2 separate regions of the Homo sapiens genome follow, and region 2 is linked to region 1. The links are contacts of gene promoters, found by promoter capture Hi-C in blood cells and fetal thymus (Javierre and others, 2016). All regions are on one chromosome and are shown on one strand. The core of a region is centred on a gene start or on the middle of the fragment in contact, and the rest is flanking DNA. Distances in the headings are between cores, read along the strand shown.

Region 1 (4,006 bases), core at 482-2,981:
GTGTCATGAATGAGAGGTGCCAAGAGGGCCTGTGGAAGGGACATCTCCTGGAGGGGGTGATATCTAAGGTGGGACTTTAAGGATGAGGGGAAGTTAGCTAAGTAGAAAGGTTCTAAGTTAGCTAAGGAAAGGTTCAAGGGAGAGGGAACGGCTCCAGCAAAGGCCCTCGAGTCTAGATCAAACTGCCCAGAAGTTGAGGGCCATTGCATTCACATTTTAGTGTGAATAATCAGATGGCTTTCTTCCTGGTGTCCAGATAAGAATTTTGACTAAGAGGAGAGTGGAGCCGATTAGGGACAGTGCAGAGCACCCTGGAGATGTCATCATAGAGCCCTACTTACATTGGGGAGGGAGGTCAAAGGTAAAAACCATTTACTTTGAAACGTGGTGTAAGGTGGCCTTCATGTTTTAAAAAGGAGGAAGGGCTCTCCCTTCTCTGATTTCTCTCTTCTGCCTCAGGACTCAGACTAGCCCTTTTAGCAGAGGGGAGCCTATAGAGAGGAGGTCATATACTAGTTGATTTTGGACTAAAGGCATCCCAAAGATGTACTATTTTTTGCTCCCTGCACTATTTTTTTTTTAATGGAACCAACGTTTAAAAATAGGATTTCTGCCTTCTCTTAAAACATCAGATGATCTGGTAACGCTGAGCTCCTGTTCTCACATGGGAACAACTGGCTGGAGCTGAGTGGCAGCCACCTCTTTAGAAAGATGTTAATTTGAAGTCTGCTATAGTCCCCATCATTCCTTATATTTCCCCCAACACTGAGACCCAAGTCACTTGAAAGTCAATATGATGATTCAAACACCAGGATTCTTCACTCATTTGTGGGTTTGTGACCTGTGATATTTGTGGATTCGTGACCTTTGGTTTAGAGGTCAAGTATAGGGGTTGTAAATAAAACTTGGGTTTGAATCAGATAAGAACTGTACCAATCTCAAAGACGGTGAATTAAAGATTAAAGAAAATATTGCATGCTTGGCATAATGTGTGGAACACAACAGCTATTGTAAACACCCAGTAGGAATGTAAGCTGCAAGAGGGCAGGTAGAAACCGTGCTAATTTAATCCGCTGGGGATATGACATTTGATTCTAATTTAATAGGTTTAATTCTTTGCAATATCCCCAGTAACTGCTGAATGAATGAGTGAGTGAATGAATGAATGGAATGATGAATGATGGGAGAGCCCGGAGGAGTTTTAAAGGCTGGAATGAAAAGGAAAGTAGTTATGATAACAGCGTTTCGCTGGGACTCCAAGGTGCAGCCAGGAAGAAAAGCCCGCTGGGACGTGCCAGGGTCTGTGACTGCGCTCCGCTGGCACCCAGAGGGTAGGTATCTGCAACGTCCCTTGGGAGCCAGACAGGGCTGACTTGCCCAGGACCTGTCAGGGCCATGTCCACCAGCTCTTGCACGGTCTGGTAACTGACAGCATCCTGATTCCTGCACGTTCCCGCCTCTGCCATCTGACCAGCAAAGACAGAGACCCACCCCGGGGATCCACCATCCAACGGGAGCCCAGCCTTTTCCTCCAAGCCGGGACGGCGCCCACACTAGACATGGCCTCCCTCGGGCTTCACGCAGCAGGACCGCGCCCGCAGCCTCCAGGCATCGCGTCCGGCTGGAGAGGCAGCTACCGTCCCACAGTGAACATGGCGGCCGAGGCGGCTTCAGCGCCGGGCGGGCGGCGCCGGGAGGCACGTCACGTGAGCGGCTCAGCTGGGCGGACCGCGCGCGCGCCCGCTGGCCCCGCCGGCCGCCGCTCGCTCGCTGGCTCGGCTGCGCTTTGAGGTGTGTGGGGCGTCGAGCCCCCGGGCCCGGTGAGGCGCGGCGCTGCGGGATGCGGCGGCGGCCGTGGCGGGGCCGCGGGCCGGGCGGGCGGGCGCGGTGATGAGTGTCTGCGGCCGCCGCCATGTCCAAGGTAACGGCGCCTGGGTCCGGGCCGCCGGCGGCGGCGAGCGGGAAGGAGAAGCGCTCCTTCAGCAAGCGGCTGTTTCGGAGCGGCCGCGCTGGCGGCGGCGGCGCGGGGGGCCCCGGGGCGTCCGGGCCGGCCGCGCCTTCCTCGCCCTCCTCGCCCTCCTCTGCACGCTCGGTGGGCAGCTTCATGAGCCGCGTTCTCAAGACGCTGTCCACGCTCTCGCACCTTAGCTCTGAGGGCGCCGCCCCAGACCGCGGCGGCCTCCGCAGCTGCTTCCCGCCCGGGCCGGCCGCCGCGCCCACGCCGCCGCCGTGCCCGCCGCCGCCCGCCTCTCCCGCGCCGCCCGCTTGCGCCGCCGAGCCGGTGCCCGGCGTGGCGGGGCTCCGCAACCACGGCAACACGTGCTTCATGAACGCCACGCTGCAGTGCCTCAGCAACACCGAGCTCTTCGCCGAGTACCTGGCGCTGGGCCAGTACCGGGCGGGGCGGCCCGAGCCCTCGCCTGACCCGGAGCAGCCTGCGGGCCGCGGCGCGCAGGGCCAGGGCGAGGTCACTGAGCAGCTGGCGCACCTGGTGCGGGCCCTCTGGACCCTGGAGTACACCCCGCAGCACAGCCGCGACTTCAAGGTGAGCCCGCGCGCCGCCGCGCCCCCACTGCACCCCGAGCCCCTGGGGCACCTGCCCGCCCAGGTCTTCCTTCCCTCGGTTCCTCTTGGCCCGGCAGGCTTCTGCATTGGTTGCTCCGAGTGGTCTGGGCAGTCGACCAGTGATTTTAAGGAGATTCATTCATTCATTCATTTATTCACTCACTCACTCACTCAAACATGTATTTATTGAGAACTTACTACATACGTGCCCATACTCTGTGATAATAGGCAATGGGAGTGACGTTGCAATGAACAAGACTATCCGCCTTCATGGAACTTGCATTTTTGTGGGGTGGGAGTGTTGAGCATGGGTTCAAATCCTGGTTCTGCCACTTACTAGCAATGTGACGTCGGGTAAGTTAAGCAGCCTCTCTGTTCTTACAGTTTCTTCATCTGGGGGACCTACTTTGTAAGGTGGTTGTGAGCTGCAAACAAGTTAATATATTAAATCGAACACTGTGGAATTACCCATATTTAACCGTTTTTTATTTACAGATTGGCACTTTTATAGGGTTCAACCTGATAAGTAAAATACTTCCATATCATGTGTATTTGCTGCTATTATTTTTGTTATTAAAGACTTGAAGAAGTTAACGAGATAATATCAGATAGTGGTTTGAAGAAAGAAAAACCTGCTGCTGTGATTGATGTGCTGACAGGCTACTTTTTATTTTTATTTTATTTTTAGAGACAGGGTCTTGCTCTGTTGCCCAGGCTGGAGTGCAGTGCTCACATAGCCTCAAACTCCTGGGCTCAAGCAATCCTCCCGCCTCACCTTCCAGAGTATTTAATAGCTGGGACTACAGACACACACCACCATACCTACCTATTTTTTATTTTTAAAACACTTTTGTAGAGACGGGGGTTTTGCTGTGTTGCCCAGACTGGTCTTGAACTCTTGTCCTCAAGCCACTCTCCCCGCTTTGGCCTCCCAAAGTGCTGGGATTACAGGGGTGAGCTATACATCCCTGGGGGTATGTATGGCCCTTGGCCAAGCCCTCCTTTGCTGTTTGCTGGTGGGGCTGCAAGTGTAGTGAGAGGGTGAGATTTGAGAGCCGAGTGGTGGGCTGGGACCGGATGGTATGGGACCATTTAGGATGCACTAAGAAATTGGGCGGTTACTCTAAGCAGAAGGGGAACATGATGTGAGATTGTGTAAGGGATACTTTCAGGTGGGACATGAATATGGTATTAAACAGCATGGAATCGGGCGGGGCGCAGTGGCTCATGCCTGTAATCCTAGCACTTTGGGAGGCCAAGGCGGGTGGATCACCTGAGGTCCGGGGGTTCGAGACCAGCCTGACCAACATGGAGAAACCCCATCTCTACTAAAAATACAAAATTAGACGGGCGTGGTGGTTCATGCCTGTTATCCTGGCTACTCAGGAGGCTGAGGCAGGAGAATTGCTTGAACCTGGGAGGCGGACGTTGCAGTGAGCCG
Region 2 (4,006 bases), core at 815-3,314, 360 kb before region 1:
CCAGAACAGTATTCATTTGCTTGTGTGTGGACAAGAATCATCACCCATTGCTATTCAGTTATCTACAAGGAAGAATTTGTGCTTCTGTATGGCATACGTACCTATGGTCTAAGAAGAATGTGTGTTCTGAGTTCCAAGCTACAGAATCACAGAGTGGCCAGCCCAGAGGTTCACTCTTTATCTAAGAGGAACATCTGAACCCTTGGCCCCATCCTGTGGAACGCAGGCCATACGGGGGATCAAGGCCCTTTGGGGTTAAATTGAGGTTGCCAGATGGAGGTTGCTAGGGGAAGGGTGCTAGTTGAAAATACTATATAAACTGATGCTCTTTACAAATGGTAGTGGTCCTCCTGTCCAGCCCACTGCCACTAGACCACCCCGTAAGTCCCCTCAGTAAACCTGCCTCATTCAGTGGCTCTGGGTCTCTTCTTCCGCCTTTCAAACATGGTGCCATCCCTACTGAAGTTAATAGGGGTACGGCACAACAGCTTCAATGGAAAATTATGTGTTGTCTAGACAGCACAACCTTCCAGGTTCTAGCCTTTCTTTGTCTTTGAGAAGTCTCATAACTCTGTTAAGTTGATACCAATGCAAAATAATTCTTGCCTATAAATAGGTAAATTCCGCTCACTGGAGGGACAGCTCTCACCCCGGTCGAAAAGCCAGTTTTGCCTCCATTTGCACATTCGTCTTATCTTCCTTTTTTTCCAGATAAATTTGCCCTTCTTTGACTTCACTTTTGGATTGATTATAACATCTGCTTGGTTCCCTCATGTAATTAAATAAAATATTTAACACGTATTCATTTCATAATTATGATAATCATGACATACTTTTTTGGGAAAATTATCTTTTAACAGAATAAGCAAGTAAATAATACATCGATGGTGTACTGTGTGATGCAGAAAATAAAGCAGAGTATTGAGGAATGCAGGACATGTTAGTTTAGAAGTGTTCCAGGAAACCAGGGAGGTGGAGGTTGCAATGAGCCGAGATAGCACCACTGCACTCCAGCCTGGGCGACAGAGCGAGACTCCATCTGAAAAAAAAAAAAAGTGTTCCAGGAAAACCCTTCTGTGAATAAAAATGCAAGCACATAGGCCGGGCGTGGTGGCTCACCCCTGTAATCCCAGCACTTTGGGAGGGCGAAGCGGGCAGATCACGAGGTCAGGAGTTCGAGACCAGCCTGGCCAACATAGTGAACCCTCGTTTCTACTAAAAATACAAAAAAAAAAAAAATAGCTGGGTGTGGTGGCATGCACCTGTAGTCCCAGCTACTCGGGACGCTGAGGCAGGAGAATCGCTTGAACCCAGGAAGTGGAGGTTGCAGTGAGCCGAGATGGCACCCCTGCACTCCAGCCTAGGCGACAGAGTGAGACTCCGTCTCAAAAAAAGAAAAAAAGAAAAATAAAAAATAAATGCAAGCACTTTGGGAAGTCGAGGTAAGAGGATCTTGTAGCCCAGGAGTTCGAGACCACCCGGGCAACATGGTGAAACCCAGTCTCTAACACACACACACACACACACACACACACACACACGGTGAAACCCAGTCTCTAACACCAGGAGTTCGAGACCACCCGGGCAACATGGTGAAACCCAGTCTCTAACACACACACACACACACACACACACACACACACACACACACGGTGAAACCCAGTCTCTAACACACACACACACACACGCCAGGCGTGGTGGTGCCCTCCCCTAGTCCCAGCTCCTCCGGAGACTGAAGCGGGAGGATCGCTTGAGCCTAGGAGGTGGAGGCTGCAGTGAGCCGTGATCGCGCCATTGGACTCCAGCCTGAGTGACAGAGCAAGACCCCGTCTCTTAAAAAATAAAAATGCTAAAAGAATTATTCGTGTTCTTCTGAAAATCAAATTTAACTGGGCGTCTTGTATTTTATCTGGCAACCGTACGGTGAGTGGTCTTAGAAGACCAGCGCTGGGTGGAGGGATCTGGACTAAGAAATGTTCCGGCCGGTCCCGCGTGGAGGGGGGGCCTGGGGTGGGCGTGGCGCCAGCGGCCCCGCCCCGTCACGTGTCCACCGCTCCTGCCGCGCAGTCAGCAGAGGAGAGCGCCAGGACGCTACAGCGGCTGAAGAGGCAGTGGCGCCCGCGGCCGCAGCGTCGGGGCTGGAGCGATGGCGGCGACCGCGGTGGCGGCGGCTGTGGCGGGAACCGAGTCGGCCCAGGGTCCCCCGGGCCCGGCAGCGTCGCTGGAGCTGTGGCTCAGTGAGTAGCCTGGCAGGCCTTCGGCGCAGCCGCTGCGCCGCACGTGAGGCCTCGCTTCCCGCCTCCCGGGGCCTTGCTTCGGGGCGGGCGGCCGCAGGGGAGGCCGGCGGCCGGGTAGGGGGCCTGGGCCCGGCGCGGTGGGGAAGATCGCCCAGGGGTCCCCCGAGAGGAGCCCCAAGCATCCGCCGGGGCAGCGGCCCCCTTCTGAGCTCTGCCCCTCCCCCTCCGCCCACCCCCCAACTTAGCAGCAGCACAGGACCCCGACCCCCACCCCAATGGCTACGTGACCTGCGCTTTCCCCTGCGCCAGGCACTGTGCTCACAGCGGCTTAGTCCTGCTTAATCCTCATTCCCACCCCGAGCTGGCTTCTATTATTAACCCCACTACGGAAGCGGGGACCTTGAGGCTTAAGGAGACGCAGTCGTGCAAGACATGCAGTCTGTTTGGGGCTGAGAAAGATCTCTATCTGGCTACCGCGTCAAAAAGAAATTTTTTACCTTTTGTGTTTACTTTGGCCAGACTTTTTTTTTTAAACACACACACACGTGTGTGTGTGTGTGCGTATATATATATATGTGTGTTTTTTTTTTCCTTTAAGAGACGGGGTCTCATTATGTTACCCTGGTTGGGCTCAAACCCTTTGGCCAGAATTCTTCTGCATGTCTCCTGTAAGCTTCACAGTCATCTTAGGGGTTATTATTATCTCCGTTTTACCAATGAGGGATTGAGGTTCAAAGGGGATAAAGAATATTCCCCTTGTACCCAGCTCTGCTAGGTGCCAGGAACACTGAGATGCATAACACAGGGTCCTTGCTCACCAAAACATTTTTTAGTGGGTACAAGCCGGCAGTCACATCACCTTACTAACGGGATTGGCGAGGAGGAGGAGGGCGTTCGTTTCACCTGTGGTGGTAGGAGTTGGTTTACCTGGGGGTCGTCACAGCCGACCGCATTCCAGGCAGAAGAAACTGCGTGTGCAAAAGCTGGGGACAAGAGAATGTGGAGCACTCCGGGAACAAGTAGGTCAGTCCGCTGGAGTGCAAGCCTAAAGCTCAGGAATCCGGGAAAGGGGCTGCACGGCTAATTGGGGCGAGATCTTCAAGAGCCTTGTGTGCTGCAGAAAGGAGTTTATGTTTTATCCGAGGGCGGGGTTGCTGTTTGGGAGTTTTCAGCCGGAGAATCTGATCAAGGAAGCCTGTTAAAGGCGTCACTTGCAGCCATATGGTGCTAAATTGGGCGGAGAGGGTGAGACTTCAGGCAGGGAGAGCGGCTAAAAAGCTCTTTTGGTGGTGGTTGGGGGCCGCAGGAGGACTAAGGCAGTGGGGAGAGGGAGAAGCAATGAGCAGGCGTAGTCAGCAGCCTCGGTGCCTTGGAATGCAGACAGGGGACAAGGAGAAATCTAGGCTAGATCGCGGGTTTCAGGCTCGAGGAACTGGTGGGTTACAGATGCCTCCCCTGTGAGGAGGAGCTGGTTTAGGCAGAGAAGGTTGAGATGTGGAGTTTGAGGTGCTTGTGGCATAGTCAAAAAAGAGATGCCCTCTAGGCAGCTGGTTGGCACTGGAGAGGGCAAGTGTGGGACGTACGGTTTGGGAGTCTGGTTCATTGGCAGTGAGCTTGCGGGAGAAGCTTGCGTATATTAAGAGCAGAGGTTTGGAAAGAGAGCGTGGGGAGCCCCAGCATTGAAGAGGCAGATGGGAAGAGAAGACTGAAGGCTGAGCAGAAACAGGCAGGGGGAGACCTGCAGGGGCACCCACTGATAGCAAAGGAGG

The links. Contacts are between HindIII fragments. The CHiCAGO score rates a contact against its expected background, and 5 or more counts as called.
Region 2: a contact is called between the fragment with the promoter of GGA2 here and the fragment with the promoter of USP31 in region 1, in 5 of 17 cell types (endothelial precursors, activated CD4 T cells, monocytes and 2 more). The highest score is 7.5, in endothelial precursors.

What each region holds. Positions count from the first base shown.
Region 1 is chr16:23,147,177-23,151,182 of GRCh38, reverse strand. USP31 (ubiquitin specific peptidase 31) reads left to right here and starts at 1,731. Exons shown (of 16, transcript NM_020718.4): 1 at 1,731-2,545. The coding sequence starts at 1,913. RefSeq lists an enhancer at 1,331-1,550 and silencers at 1,731-1,830, 1,981-2,030, 2,131-2,230, 2,361-2,590. The HindIII fragment of the contact is 4,661 bases long and covers 1-4,006 here.
Region 2 is chr16:23,508,552-23,512,557 of GRCh38, reverse strand. GGA2 (golgi associated, gamma adaptin ear containing, ARF binding protein 2) reads left to right here and starts at 2,064. Exons shown (of 17, transcript NM_015044.4): 1 at 2,064-2,237. The coding sequence starts at 2,147. RefSeq lists silencers at 1,788-1,837, 1,908-2,137, 2,208-2,377. The HindIII fragment of the contact is 8,010 bases long and covers 1-2,912 here.